Regions from separate parts of the Homo sapiens genome. Here all the other regions are linked to region 4. The links are contacts of gene promoters, found by promoter capture Hi-C in blood cells and fetal thymus (Javierre and others, 2016). All regions are on one chromosome and are shown on one strand. The core of a region is centred on a gene start or on the middle of the fragment in contact, and the rest is flanking DNA. Distances in the headings are between cores, read along the strand shown. Region 1 overlaps LOC124902789 (a long non-coding RNA gene). Region 2 overlaps ETS1 (ETS proto-oncogene 1, transcription factor). Region 3 overlaps LOC105369568 (a long non-coding RNA gene). Region 4 holds the start of ETS1-AS1 (ETS1 antisense RNA 1). Region 5 has its middle 50 kb from the start of ETS1.

Region 1 (2,700 bases), core at 24-2,523, 83 kb before region 4:
AACTATTTAAATTTTATTTAAAAGAAGGAAAAGGAAGAACAGATATTTAGATGCCAAGAAATGACATGAAAATATTTATATGTACTTATGTAAGTAATAGTTACTCTTAATGTGTCGATTAATTTGGTCTTTAATGTTAAGAGATAAAGTGAAATACAGAATTAAGTGGGATTAGTTAGAAACCATTTTAGAGAAAACAAGAAACAGTGCTCACCATTGTAAACCAAGAATCTGGTAAGATCCATCATCTGTAAACAATTTACTCCGAGAAATTATTTTTTCCTTGTAGTGGTTATGGGTTTCCCTGAGCCATTCACACTCTAACCCAATGACCTTAAATTTTAGGAAAATAGAGGTGCATTTTGTTGCTACTGGGAATAGAAAAGCTAACTGGGCTATGAATGACTTGAGCTTGTGGTCTTGGCCTCATTAACACTGGACAACAACCAACTGAGCTAATCAGCCACTGCTGACATTACAGAGAAACTTTATTGAGGTATAATTAAAGTACATTAAACCATACATGTATAAAATGTACAATTTGATCAGCTTTTGAATACGTATATACTCATGAAACCATCACCACAATCAAAATAACAAACATTTAATCAACTCCAGAAGTTTCTTTGTGTCCCTTTATAATCCATTATTCCTGCACCTCCATCCTCAGCAACTGCTGATCTGTTTTCTCTCAGGACAGAATAATTTGCTTTTTTCTAGAATTTTATATAACTGCAATAATACAGTTTGTACTATTTGGCTTGTTATATTTTAATATCTTTAGAAACTAGATATGCCCCCTCTCTCATTTTTGATATTGGTAGTTTGTCTTTTCTCTTTTTGTGCTAATAAGTCTAGCTAGAAGATTATTGATCTTTATGAGTTTTGCAAGGAACCATCTCCTGATTTCATTGATTTTTTTTCAATTGTTTTTCTGTTTTCCAGTGCATTTATTTTGGCTCTGATCATTTCATGTCTTTTCCTTTCTTTGGGTTTTATTTGCTTTTATTCTTCTAGTTTCTTAAGGCAGAAGCTGAGTTCATTGATTTGAAGATGTTTTTCTTTTTTAATATGAAACCTTTTTGTTCTATAAATGTTCCCCTAAGTGCTGCCTGAGCTACATCTCACATATTTTTTGTATTTTGTTTTCATTTTCATCGAGTTCCAAATACTTTCCAGTTTCTCTTTTGATTTTGTCAATGATCCATGAGTTATTTTAAATATTATCTTGAGACTACTTGGGATATCCCAGATATCTTTCTGATACACTCATTTCTGATTTAATTCAATTGTGGTTACTGTAGGACAGATTTTCTATTACTTGACTCCTTTTAAATTTACTGGGATTTGTTTTCTCATTCAACATATGGTCTCTCTTGGGAAATGTTTCATTAATACTTAAATAAAAAGTATATTCGGTGGTTGTTGTTGTTGGGTGCAATGTTCCGTAATTGTCAGTTAGGTCAATTTAGTTAATAGTGTTATTCAAATCTTCTAAATACTTATGGACTTTCTGTCTATATGTTCTATCAATTACTGAAATCTCTGACTATAACTGTGAATATGTTTGTTTTTCCTTAAGTTTTGCTCCATGTATTTTGATGCTCAGTTATTATATGTGTAAATATTTAGGATTGTTATATCATCTTGATGAGGCGACTACTTTATCATTATTAAATGGCCCTCTTTATCCCTGGTAATCTTTGCTTTAAAACCTACTTTTTAATATGAATATAGCCTCATTAGCTTTATTTTGATGAGTATTAACATTGTATATAACTTTTCATCTTTTTATTTTAATATGTTTGTATATTTAAAGTGCATTCCTTATAGGTAACATATAGTTGAGTCTTTCTTTTTATCCAATATGACACCTCTGACTTGACTTTGAAGTGTTTAAACTTTTTGTATTTAATGTGAATATGTATATGATCGGTTTTAAATTTACCAGCTGGCTAGTTTTTTCTGTTTATTCCATCTATTATTCTTTGTTCCCTTTTTCCTCTATGCTTTCTTTTGGGTTAATTATACTTTTAAAAATATTTCGTATATCCTTTGTTGTATTATTTTAGTGGTTGATATAGTGTCATTGATTACGTCTTTAACTTATCACAGTTATCTTTCAAGTAACATTATACCACTTTGTACATGCGTATTAGAAAACCTTGCAACAATGTACTTCCATTCTCTGTCTCCTGAATTTTATACTACTGTTGTCGTCATACATATTATTTTTATTTCTACATATGTAATAAGACCTATATTACATTGTTTCTGTGTTTGCTTTAAAAAACCAAGTTTTCAATGAAATGTTTAAAATGAGAAAATATATTTGTCTACATAATTTTTTTTCAAGGCTCTTAATTCTATCCAGTATATCAGACTTCTATCTGGTATCATTTTTCTTCTGCTTGAAAGATGTCTTTTATCAGGGATGCCCTCTCTTACCACTCCTATTCAACATAGTGTTGGAAGTTCTGGCCAGGGCAATCAGGCAAGAGAAAGAAATAATGGGTATTCAATTAAGAAAAGAGGAAGTCAGATTGGCCCTGTTTGCAGATGGCATGATTGTATATTTAGAAAACCCCATCATCTCAGCCCAAAATCTCCATAAGCTAATCAGTAACTTCAGCAAAGTCTCAGGATACAAAATCAATGTGCAAAAATCACAAGCATTCCTATACACCAATAACAGAAAAA
Region 2 (2,700 bases), core at 27-2,526, 65 kb before region 4:
GAAATCTAAGGTATTATTTCAGCTGCAGTTTTGCATGTCTGCAAACACACACACACACACACACACACACACACACACACACACACACAACATTCACACACATGCACACATTCACACACACACCTTTTGCCAGTGCCCAACAAAAATCACATAATCTAAGAGAAAACAATGTAGTCCAAACAGTTCCACCCAACACTCCCTGAGCAGCTCCTAAAATATTTTGAGAGCTTCATTAAGGCACCTGCATCCAAAAGATCAAAATAATACAGCTGGGATAATTCTGCCTTTGCTTTCCATATGGATGCTCCAATTCATCAGTATGGGGACACTCATGAATCACAGAGCTATGTTCCTGATAATTCTGGGTCTGCAAGAGGATCTGGGAGTAAATAACAATCAATTTTCTTAAAGATATGCTAGAAAGTAGTTAGTACTTCCAATTTCTCATCCAAATCCCAAAAAGGGCCAGCCCTGAGAAGCTTACCTGAAATATTTCTTTCCTTCTCTCATGGAAGTCCATAAAAGCCACCCCTCCTCCTTATCCTTTCAACTGGGCAACTATAGAGTGAGGGAGATTCTAATTGTATTAGGCACTTTTCCTCACTAGTTAGATGTTGACTTTTCCTCTAAAACTCCATTTTCAGATTCCCCCTCACAACCAGCAGAAAGATGACTACCTTGCTTGACTATGTTTGTATTTAAACCTTGGGGGAACTAAAAATCTATTCAAATCTCATGGACAACCTTATTTTCCTCACTGAACCTCCTTCCTTAGTTTCCTTTGCCTTCAAGTCATTCCTCTCTTCTGGAATTAACCTTCACTTACCCTGTGCCAAGACATCAGACCCAAGCAAGAGGCCCTGGCATCACCTGTGCCATTCATTTTGCATACACAGTCTCACCTGACATCCTACCGGACTAATTTAAATTCTTCAAAGGAAAGCCTTGCACTTCTCTTCCAAAGACAGCCAAGTCACATTTTATTGAAATGCTCTCTTAATTTCCATCACTTCTAAAACTCAGCAAGTCTAAACTCTTCAACTTAGGTCGTGTCTCAAGTTACTTTTTCACTCACCAATCAGAAAGCCGTACACTTCTCTCTACTGAATAACAGAGTTGGCGGTGAGGGGGTGCAAAAAATGGAGGACTCTTGGAAAATAAGACATAAAAGAAAAATTACAGAGTGTTAGTTTGGAACGACATGCATTCAGGACTTATTTCTTAGGACCTGAGGGGTAATGCCCATGCATACAGCTTTTATTCCAAGTCATCTATGCTACAGATATAGGACTAAGAAAGAACCAAGTCAATCTTCCTCCTTCGATCTCCCTTCCAGGACTTCAACAGTGCTCCTACGTTTACTGTCGTCCAAAACCAGGGATGCAAAATACATTCAGTTCAAAGACTTAATGCTTCTTAGCTCAACATTAAGTCCAAACCCCGAGAATCCACTGATAACAAGTAAGTAAAGGGATGTGCTAATTTTTTTTAATTGTAGATGACATTCACACACATAATTCCCCTGTACCCAAATCAGCATTAATTGTCCTTCTTATATAAGTCCCATGAATTTGGGATCCCTGATCTCAGTGAGAGCGTTTTGCTTTTCCAATGGGGTCTATATAAACAGTTTTCTTTCATTGTGACAGAATCCTCAGCCGGCAAATAAAAACAAACTTACATGATATTGCAATACTGAGACCACCTTAGAGCTTAAGACGATTTTTAAGAAAAAAAATACTGGCACAAAATTTAATAAAATAAATTTTAACACAACAACGGTTTTGGCCCCTCCCCACTGAAGTCCATCTTTGCTTCAAAACTAGAGTGATAGGTAAATAGTTCTCAGATTTTCAGTGCATCCCCCCCCAAAACATGTTTCATCCCACCCACCTCTTTTTTGCCCTCCCAGACCTAAAAACAGAAGCAAATTAATTGCCTTACATCAGTTTCATGAGTTCTGATGTGACAATGTCACTTGCTAATGGGTCCACAACTCAAGACACTTTTTCATGGATGATTTTTAAAAATGATTGGACACATTAGTCTCTTTCTCTGTTAAGCCAGAGCCTTCAAGCTTCTGAGAAGGCCCTTCTCCCTCTCCTGAAAATTTGCTCAAGAATTTCTGGTCCCACCCACCCCACAAGTCCTGGCTTTCCTTTCCCAACTGCGCACAATTGATTACAGCTGCAACTGACTTAGCTCCCACCCCTGAAGGTAAAAAATGAGTTCTGGAAAATAAAAAATAGAATAACAATTCAAAATTCAGAGTCCAACCAACACGGCTGTCCTTGGAAGGTCTCAGCAGGGTTTCCCCAGCCCCTTCAGTGCCATCACTCGTCGGCATCTGGCTTGACGTCCAGCATGGCGTGCAGCTCCTCAGGGGTGTACCCCAGCAGGCTCTGCAGGTCACACACAAAGCGGTACACGTAGCGTTTCCCCGCTGTCTTGTGGATGATGTTTTTGTCGTAATAGTAGCGTAGGCCACGGCTCAGTTTCTCATAATTCATCTTAGGTTTGTTTTTCCTCTTTCCCCATCTCCTGGCCACCTGAAATTTAAAAAGAAAAATAAAGGAGGAGTAGGCAAAAATCTACAAGACAGGCCAAATATATATGTTTCTATGCCTATGCTATACCCATTCATGGTGACCCATGATGCTCAAGTAAGATGATTTGAGATTCATGTAGATATAGAAAATA
Region 3 (2,700 bases), core at 174-2,673, 91 kb after region 4:
CCAAGCACACCCCAAAGCTAAGAGATTGAGGAGAAGACCGAGAACCAGCAGAAGGGGCTGAGTAGGGACCAGAGAAGCAGGAGGGAGAGCCAGGGAGAGTGGCAGTCCAAAGGCCCACTGAGGAAGCACAGCAAGAGAGCGAGACTGATGGCATCACCTGCCACCAAGAATAGCAAAACAAGACGAGGACCAAGCATCAACATGCTAATTTCAGAGGGATCCGAGGGTTGCCCAAAGGCCTCTATCTCCAGAAGTTTCCTATTCAGGGGTAATTCCCTCCCTGCATCCCTGAAATTCCTGCCTAGAATTGCTGATTGGACAGAACTGCAAAGGCCGGGCATGGTTTCCAACACCAACCCGCCTCCACCCTCGGATTCACAAGCGCAAAGGGATGTCACCATGGGTCTAACCAAAGAAAAGTGGAATCAACCCTGGAGGGAAGGGGGTGATAACAGGAGTATTGTGGGGGAAAAATGGTCCAGGGAGTAGATACAAGTGACAGCCCTCAACAGTCACACTTTTCAAATAATTTTGAAATTCCCTTCTGATTCCTACACATCTCTCATCTGAAGATGCAGGTTGCTGAGGGCAGCTGGGCACAGGCTGGAGGTCCTGCTTTTGTACAGAGACAGCAGCAGCTGCCGTAGGGGGCCGAGGAGCACACAGGGAAGCCTCATCCACAGGTCCTGAAGCAACTCCCCCATCCCCTGCACTAGTGTTTACGGATAGGAAGGCCTGGGGCTGGGCCATGTGGGGAGGAAAGCCCAGGGTCTGGTCTGCCTGCTGCTGATAAGTAATTCCACAAGACAAGCAGAAGGAATCCAGACAGAGATCTAAGAACATCCAGATGCCCAGCGCAGCGGGCCCAGTTCCTGAGCCATGACAGGCTTTAATGTGCGCCCCAGCTCTTGGGGACAGAGGCCTGGCTGCCGGCCCTTCTGTTCTCTGGCGCAGACCCAGGCCCCCTGACCAGGGGAGGGGAATACTGGCTCCCTCTTCTCCACACTCCGAACACATGGCCCAGGCCCAGGACAGTTTTCAGAATTGAACATGAGCTGCTTAGTATGTACTTGATCATTTAAATGAGGTGTATGTGCAGGACCCTGTGCCAGGTACTTTAGATACTTCAATAGATTTGATCCTCACAGAGGAGCAAGCTGAAAAATAATCTCTATGGTGTCACTGAAAGGCAATCAGAACAGACAAATAAGAAAATGAGGCTCAGAACAATGAAGTACTTTTCCCAAGGCTGCACAGCTAATACACGGCCCTGCTGCATTCCCATCCAGTCCCTGCCACAGCGTCCCTGGGCCTGAGAACACAGCCCGCCACCGACACCAGCTTCCCGGACATCTGTGGAGAAAGAGAATACTCAAACATTAAATGCAATTTTCCTCCTTCTAAAGCATTTTGCATCAAGAAAGAAAGGGAGGGGGATCTAACAAAGCCGCAGACCATGTATCAAAAAGCACAGCCCAAACATCTCTGGGTCCTCACTTCCCTGCATTCTCCTTTCTCCAGAAAAACAGTAAATTGCCTACTTCCTTCTCCTGTGAGTTTGACAGAACAAAGAAGCACAGGACAAAAGCAGGGAAGGATGAAGTGACAACCACAGAACTATGGCTAATCAACTTGCCCCATATCAGAAAGGCAATGACCAAAGCAAGGTCTTTCCGTGTGCCTGGGAAGAGGAGCTGCCCAGGGGAGGGGCTCTCCTTCCTGACTTGAGACCACTCATCATCCTGCCCGGCAGATGGGATAGCAGCACCAGGAGGTGGAGAGAGGCAGAGGGAGGAGAGGAAAGAATGGAGTGATGGTGAATGAGGGAGAGAATTGGGGAAGAAGGGGTAGGTCCAGAAGGCCAGGAGACCAGGCATGTTTACTTTGAAGTTTTCTTCTAGCCCCCAAGTCTATGAGGTCTGGTGATTATGGGAGAAAGGGTGATTAGGGGAGAAAGGGTGATGATTAGGGGAGAAAGGGAGATTAGGGACTCCAGGGCTTTCACTGGGAAAAGCCAAGCATGAAAGAAAAGGAAGCCTCTAGGTCTCTAGGGTTAGGATAGACAAGGAGCAGCTGAGAGAATGTGGAAAGCAGAAAATGGGGATGTGAATACATGAGAGAGGCTCTGAGATGACTAAAAGAGAAAAGTCACCAAAGTCACCAAAGATGGAATAGTGAGCGGAATGGAGGTAGGCAGTGAGATGCATCTATAACTCACCTTATTCCTGTCCTCCACCTCCTGGGCCAAGGCAGGGGCACACGATTCTCCAGCCTGGGACCCCAGCTGCCCCTTTCATAGCCGCAAAATCTCTTTGCAAGCTGTGGTTTGTGGGCCTCTGTAGTGCCTGAGTTCCCCACTAGCCCGAGCTCTATGAGAAAGTAGGTTTGTCTCACGCCCCAGGTTGGCACTCAGGGGTCACTGGTTGGGTGGATGGACAAATGAATGCAGGGGGCTCTTTCATCCAACGTGACTGATCCTCCACAGGTCTCTTTCAGGGGTCCCAACCCTACTCCCCGCCAGGCTCTGTGCTGTGTGTGGGGGGCTGCTTCTCTTCCCTCCTGATTTCCAGCTTTGCCTCCAGATCTGTCTTAGAGATGAGAAGCACAAGGTCGGCAGAGGTGTGGTCTTTGCGTTTGTCTGCTGCCTCCAATCTGTGCCCCGGCTGGGGGAGGCGGGGAGAGGGATGGGAGGTAGGAGGT
Region 4 (2,700 bases), core at 44-2,543:
TCAGAGGCTGTGCCCTTTTCCCTTCATAGTAGAGCAGAACCTCTATCCCCAGCACTCACGTCCACTCGGTTACATGTATGCCTCAGTGTCCCCACCAGCCAAACAACAGCAGCCAAGCGTTGCCTTTCATCCACTTGGGCAAGATACTTCAATACCATATCTGGTTTTTAAGGCACTCAGGAAAAAAAAAAATCAATCAAATAAATACTTCTGTGCTTGTGCTTGTACTGCAGCAGTCTGTTCCTCCTGCATTTGGGAAAAAACAGAATTGTATTTTTAAGCATTCCTTAGACTTCGGCTAATTATATCCTACCAAGTGCTGAATTGCCTTACACTAGGAACGTGAAGTCAATAAGGGCCAAGAAAAGTCCGCAGGAGTTGGGGAACAGAAGAGTGGAGCTAGACAATAATATTAAGAAAATAGTCACCTTCATACAGGAATTCCTCAAGCACATGGAGTATGTAAAAAGCATACTTTCTTTTTTATTTATACTCCTCCCTCAACTCCACCCCAACTTCAATAAAAAAGAAATATAAATATACACTTAATGTTGAACAATCATGGAAGACAGACTTTCCCTCTCCAGAAGTGTCCTAGCATGTTATCTACTCCTGAGTCTTGAACTTCAACAAAACAAAGAATCTCTGAGTTTTGAGCTAAAATATGCTTTACTGAAGGTAGGTACAAAAACATTCAGACCACTAACGGCTGATCCAGAACCAGTTTATGACTCACAGATGTTGATTTACTGGTATAAATGTAAGATTTAGAAAAAAAAAAAAAAAAAAAAAAGCCCTCAATTAACAACAACCTGTCTGAGCTGCATTTGTGGTCTCATTTTTCTCTGAGAAAAGGCAACAGTCTCTGTCATACACAGAAACAAGCTTTGAAAGCTTACTTCTAAGGCAAGTGGTTTCTATGTGAGAAGTTTAGTCATTAAAAGTCACACTAGGGAAGAAAAATGCCTGGCACTTCAATATCTACATTATCAAGCAGCAATAAAATGGAAAATTAGAGATAGGAAGGAAAATTAAAATAACTCTCTTAATTAAACTTGGATGCCAAAAAGCCTTAGGGTCAGTTAAGGGACCCAAGCCAGGGGACTCAGATGGTACTGTTGCTGACTGCAGGCTGGCTCTGTGACCTCACCAAAGCCACTTAACCTTTTTGTGTCACAACCTCATCTCTGTTTCAGGGAATAAAATCAGCCCTAGCTCTCCCTAGAATGGAACACAGACTCATTGGCTATTGTTTAGAAGGCACAATAAACAATGAGGGTAGGAGGAGCTGCAGTCAGGAGGGAAGAAGGGAGGGTGGGGTGGGGTTGGGGGAGAGGGGAGGACTTGGGAGCCTGTTTGCCCTGGAAAGCTCAATATAAGAAAACAAAGAGGATAGTAGTGTGGGCTTTGGAATAAGACTCAGGTTCAAATTCTTACTCTACCAACTAGCCAGCTGAATTGCCACAGGTAAGTCATTTAAACAATCCCGAACCTCAGTTCCTCCATGTTTCAACTAGGGATAATAGCAGCACACACCTTTTAAGGCTATTTGAATGATTAAATGAGATAATGTATGCAAAGAATTTAGCACAGTGTCTAGGTGAGAATTAGTATTTGATTATTGTTATTAAGATCTAGTATACGGTAGAATATGTGGGAAATCACATTAAATGTCTGTCTACAGCCATCTCTTTGCAGAATAGCTTGGATGCTCAATTTTCCTGAACGATCTCCAGCGAGAGATAGAACAACTATCACCACATTTCATTTAAAAATCTCTTCAAGACCCTTCCTCAGTTCTTAAACTGGCAACCTGCCCAGCATCAGCCTCACTTGAGAAATTCGAGAACTACCTGATTGGAGAAGAGAACTAGATTTATATTTGTTTTGAGTCACAGAAAAGTGACAGTTTAAATTCTGAAAGAAGATCACATTTGTAGTGCCTCTTTGGAGACAAAACCTTAGGTCTTGGATTTGTCACATGTTAGAGCTCAATGGGAGTTTATCAGTGCTCTCCAAGTCCAGCACTCCTATTTACCAGAGGTGAAAAATGAGTGTGAGTGAGGAAATTATTATTTCCAGGGCCACACAATCTAAAAAAGTCAGTGTCAGTACTAGAACCAGATGCCCTGATAGCAGTTCTCTCCCTGGCATCTCCTTGCATTTACTTTGCATTTCACTTTGGCAGGAGAAGTACCAGACACCCTTGAGACACAAGACAGGATACAATGGACATGGGAGTAGATAGATGAGCAGACTCAATTTCTAGAAATCCAACTTCTCTACACTGGATGTATTGTCTTTGGGCAAATACATTGCAGGATAACCACACTATGGTTCCCTGTGGGAGACAGCTTGGCATGGGCTGTCAGGAGAGAAAGGGCCTGGGTTGGCTCTATTGCTGTCTGCAGTTTCTTTAGACTATAATTATGAACCATTCAACTGCATCTGCAGCCCCAACAATGTGGGGTGGATTGGCCTAATCCACAGACCAAGCGACATTTTAAAATCCAGCAGTTTAGACACGTATTCCTCTTGCAGCAAATCAAACATGGCTCAGACAGGAAGAGGTAAGGAGCTGCCCAAGGTTAGAGGGTTCTGAGGTCTCATCCACACTCAGTGTTGTGTGCTTCCCTGAAGCAGGCTGAGCATGTTGCCTGGAATTGCTGCAAATGCAGAATGCAGGCTACTCTGTGAGCC
Region 5 (2,700 bases), core at 84-2,583, 110 kb after region 4:
AATCGGAGGTGGGTGGGGAGAAGGGGTTCCCTGTGTGCAGTGACCACATGTTGGTGGCATAAGCAGTATGGCTGAATATAGCCAACTGCAAATAACTGACCTTTGGTACAAGGTATTTTGGTGCCCAACCTGAGCCAGGATTTAAGACAGAATTTGGACTGGCCTTTAGGAAACAAAAGGGCTGCCATGGCTCCCCCTGTGATTCCCCGCCTTCTCCACATCCTCTGTCTCCTGGAGTCTATTCCAGATGCTCCATCTCCCTGTTGGGAGCAGTGGTGAGAGGCTAGGCTGGAGCTCAGCAAGTTAGGTGCTGAGGGCATGAAATACAGGAAAAACTCACTCTCAGTGCTGTGCAAGGTCAGGTCACACTACCTGCTGCCCTGAAAAATGGCCATGCTAGGTGTGTCAGGGCTCCCTGCTGCACAGAGAAGAAAACAAACATGCCACCCAATCTTGGAACTCACAGGCTAATGCTGACAATATTTTAGTAACAGGCATAAAAGACAACTGAACAGTTATAGGTTGGTTTGTTTGTTTTTATCCAAGATGGCAGATTAGAGGCTTTTAGCATACCTCAGCCACTTGGAAACAGAAAAATAGAACATAAAGATTAACTCTGTGAGCTTCAATTCAAAAAGGAAAATGAGAATCTACCAGAATCATGGACACCCCAGATCTCAAAGAGGAGAATGACAGCAAACAGCCCCTGTGACGGCATCCGGCTGATAAAAGTGAGTGAAGCCCCATAAGTGAGAGGCAGAAAGCCTTCGTCTGTGGCTCATCTTTCCCCTGGGGATCTGAACAACCCAGGCCAAGGGATTGCACTTTGCTTCTCCTAAGCCCTGGAGCTAATTTGGGGAGATACATGGAGGTCCAGCGAGGTAAAGACACCAAGAAAAGCTGTAGACATTTTCTTAGACCTGGGACTGAGAGCAGGACACCATTTTTAATCTGGGTGCATACTAAGTCAGCCATTTCTTGGCAACCCAGCAGTCTGGCTGTGCAGGCATTGTAGTCTCAGGCCAGAGACTGGAGCACCTGCTCTGGAGCAGAGTAGGAGCCTCCACAGCCAGAACTGTGGAAGGCACCTCAGCAGTAGGTGCTGGAATTGTGCTCTCCCTCTTCACAAGCCTGGGGTGGGAGGAGAGCTACAGCTGCAGTTTCTCCTGGATGGTGAGACTTGTAGTCACAGCCAGCTTGGAGACCTGAAACTGATCTGTGTGTGCCATTGCTGGGTCCCCTACCCTGCTCTCCTGAGATCATAGTGCAGTCGGGCCCTTTCTACTCCATGCCCAGACAGATCTCCAGGCATTAGGAGCACTCATTCTCTTGGTTCAGCAGCCTGAGCTGCTCCACCATTCCTGGACATAAGATCTTAGTGCTATGGGGCTCTTTGCTCCTTGCCCAGGCAGGTCTCCAGATTTTCAGAGTACCTGCTAGCTTGATTCGGCAGCCTAAGTTGCCCCGCCCTTACTAGACATAGATTGTGGTAAAGTAAGACTCTGCTCCATGCCCAGGCAGACCTCCAGGCATTCAGAGCAACTTTTCTCCTGGTTCAGCAGTCTGAGCTGCCCTACCCTTCCTATGCAGAGATCCAGGTGCAAGGGAACCCTCTCTGCTATATGCCCAGGAAAATCTCCAGGCATTCAGAGCACCTGCTTGCTTGGTCCAGCAGCCTGAGATGCCCCACCTCTCCTGTTCAGAGATTTTGTTTCAGGGGTACTCTCTCTGCTTCAGACCCAGGCAGTTTCAGGCATTTGGAGTAGTGCTCACCTGGATCAACACCCTAACTAGTCCTATCCTTCCTGTGCAGAGATCCTGGTGCAAGGAGGCCCTCTTTGCTTCGTGTCCAGGCAGATCTCCAGGCATCTGGAGCTCTCACTCTCCTGGATTAGGAGCTTAGGCTACCACACACCCCCATCCCTAAGCAGAGAACTTGGAGCCAAGGAGGTTTTCCAGCTCCATGACTAGACACACCTCTGGGTGCCTGGTGGCTACCCACTGGATTATCCCTTGGCACTGGTGCTTATGCCTGCCATTAGGGGAACTGCAGGAGGACCTGCCTGGTCCAGCCCTACACTTTGTGGCTCCCGCCCCTTCAAGGCTGAGCAGGGAGCTCAGACCACTGGACATTCCACAAATCAGCCCATTGCCTGAGGCAACAGAGAGCTTCTCCCAGTAAACAAGGATCAATATATACCCAACCACATTGCCCGCAGGTGGTTCATACCTATAAATGCCATCTATAGGCTTGTAGGATGAGCTGCACAGCCCAATATAAAACCTGCTGGAAGGAGTGCATATGACTATAGAAACAAAGTCAAAAGACTCTACCCAGAATTCTCTACAGTCATGCCTCCTAGGAATTGAGGGAAAGAGAAAGGGAAAGAAAAAAAAAGAAAAATTGTATCAGTATAGGGTGAGAAAGAAAAAGAAAAATCCTACCTGCACGAAAATAATTACAAAAATTAGAAGTGCCAGCATCTCCAAATGAGAGAAAACCAGTGCAAGAATTCTGGCCCCATGAAAAATCTGAATGTAGTGACCACATCAAAGGATTGCACTACCTCTCCAGCAATGGTCCCTAACCAAAATGGAAACTCAGAAATACCAGATAAAGAATTCAAAGCATAGATTGCAGGAAGCTCATTGATATCCAAGACAAGGTTGTAAATCAACACAAAGAAATTTCTAAAACAA

What was found. Contacts are between HindIII fragments. The CHiCAGO score rates a contact against its expected background, and 5 or more counts as called.
Region 1: a contact is called between a fragment that was not itself captured here and the fragment with the promoter of ETS1-AS1 in region 4, in 2 of 17 cell types (total CD8 T cells and non-activated CD4 T cells). The highest score is 5.6, in total CD8 T cells.
Region 2: a contact is called between a fragment that was not itself captured here and the fragment with the promoter of ETS1-AS1 in region 4, in 9 of 17 cell types (activated CD4 T cells, total CD8 T cells, non-activated CD4 T cells and 6 more). The highest score is 13.2, in activated CD4 T cells.
Region 3: a contact is called between a fragment that was not itself captured here and the fragment with the promoter of ETS1-AS1 in region 4, in 11 of 17 cell types (non-activated CD4 T cells, activated CD4 T cells, naive CD8 T cells and 8 more). The highest score is 35.7, in non-activated CD4 T cells.
Region 5: a fragment that was not itself captured here is called in contact with the fragment with the promoter of ETS1-AS1 in region 4 in 11 of 17 cell types (total CD8 T cells, activated CD4 T cells, naive CD8 T cells and 8 more); the score reaches 23.5 in total CD8 T cells.

The regions. Positions count from the first base shown.
Region 1 is chr11:128,441,970-128,444,669 of GRCh38, forward strand. The region is part of intron 1 of LOC124902789 (a long non-coding RNA gene); the gene reads left to right. Among named protein-coding and RNA genes, the nearest start is that of MIR6090, 79 kb to the right of the region's middle. The HindIII fragment of the contact is 6,754 bases long and covers 1-2,700 here.
Region 2 is chr11:128,460,028-128,462,727 of GRCh38, forward strand. It overlaps ETS1 (ETS proto-oncogene 1, transcription factor), which reads right to left. Exons shown (of 10, transcript NM_001143820.2): 10 at 1-2,549. The coding sequence ends at 2,334. Among named protein-coding and RNA genes, the nearest start is that of MIR6090, 61 kb to the right of the region's middle. The HindIII fragment of the contact is 1,598 bases long and covers 478-2,075 here.
Region 3 is chr11:128,615,498-128,618,197 of GRCh38, forward strand. All of the region lies in intron 3 of LOC105369568 (a long non-coding RNA gene), which reads right to left. Among named protein-coding and RNA genes, the nearest start is that of ETS1, 29 kb to the left of the region's middle. RefSeq lists enhancers at 1-198, 332-832. The HindIII fragment of the contact is 6,898 bases long and covers 1-2,700 here.
Region 4 is chr11:128,524,849-128,527,548 of GRCh38, forward strand. It overlaps ETS1-AS1 (ETS1 antisense RNA 1), which reads left to right and starts at 1,294. Exons shown (of 4, transcript NR_120581.1): 1 at 1,294-1,467; 2 at 1,685-2,570. The region is part of intron 3 of ETS1 (ETS proto-oncogene 1, transcription factor); the gene reads right to left. The HindIII fragment of the contact is 5,425 bases long and covers 893-2,700 here.
Region 5 is chr11:128,636,046-128,638,745 of GRCh38, forward strand. No RefSeq gene overlaps it. Among named protein-coding and RNA genes, the nearest start is that of ETS1, 50 kb to the left of the region's middle. The HindIII fragment of the contact is 2,906 bases long and covers 1-2,700 here.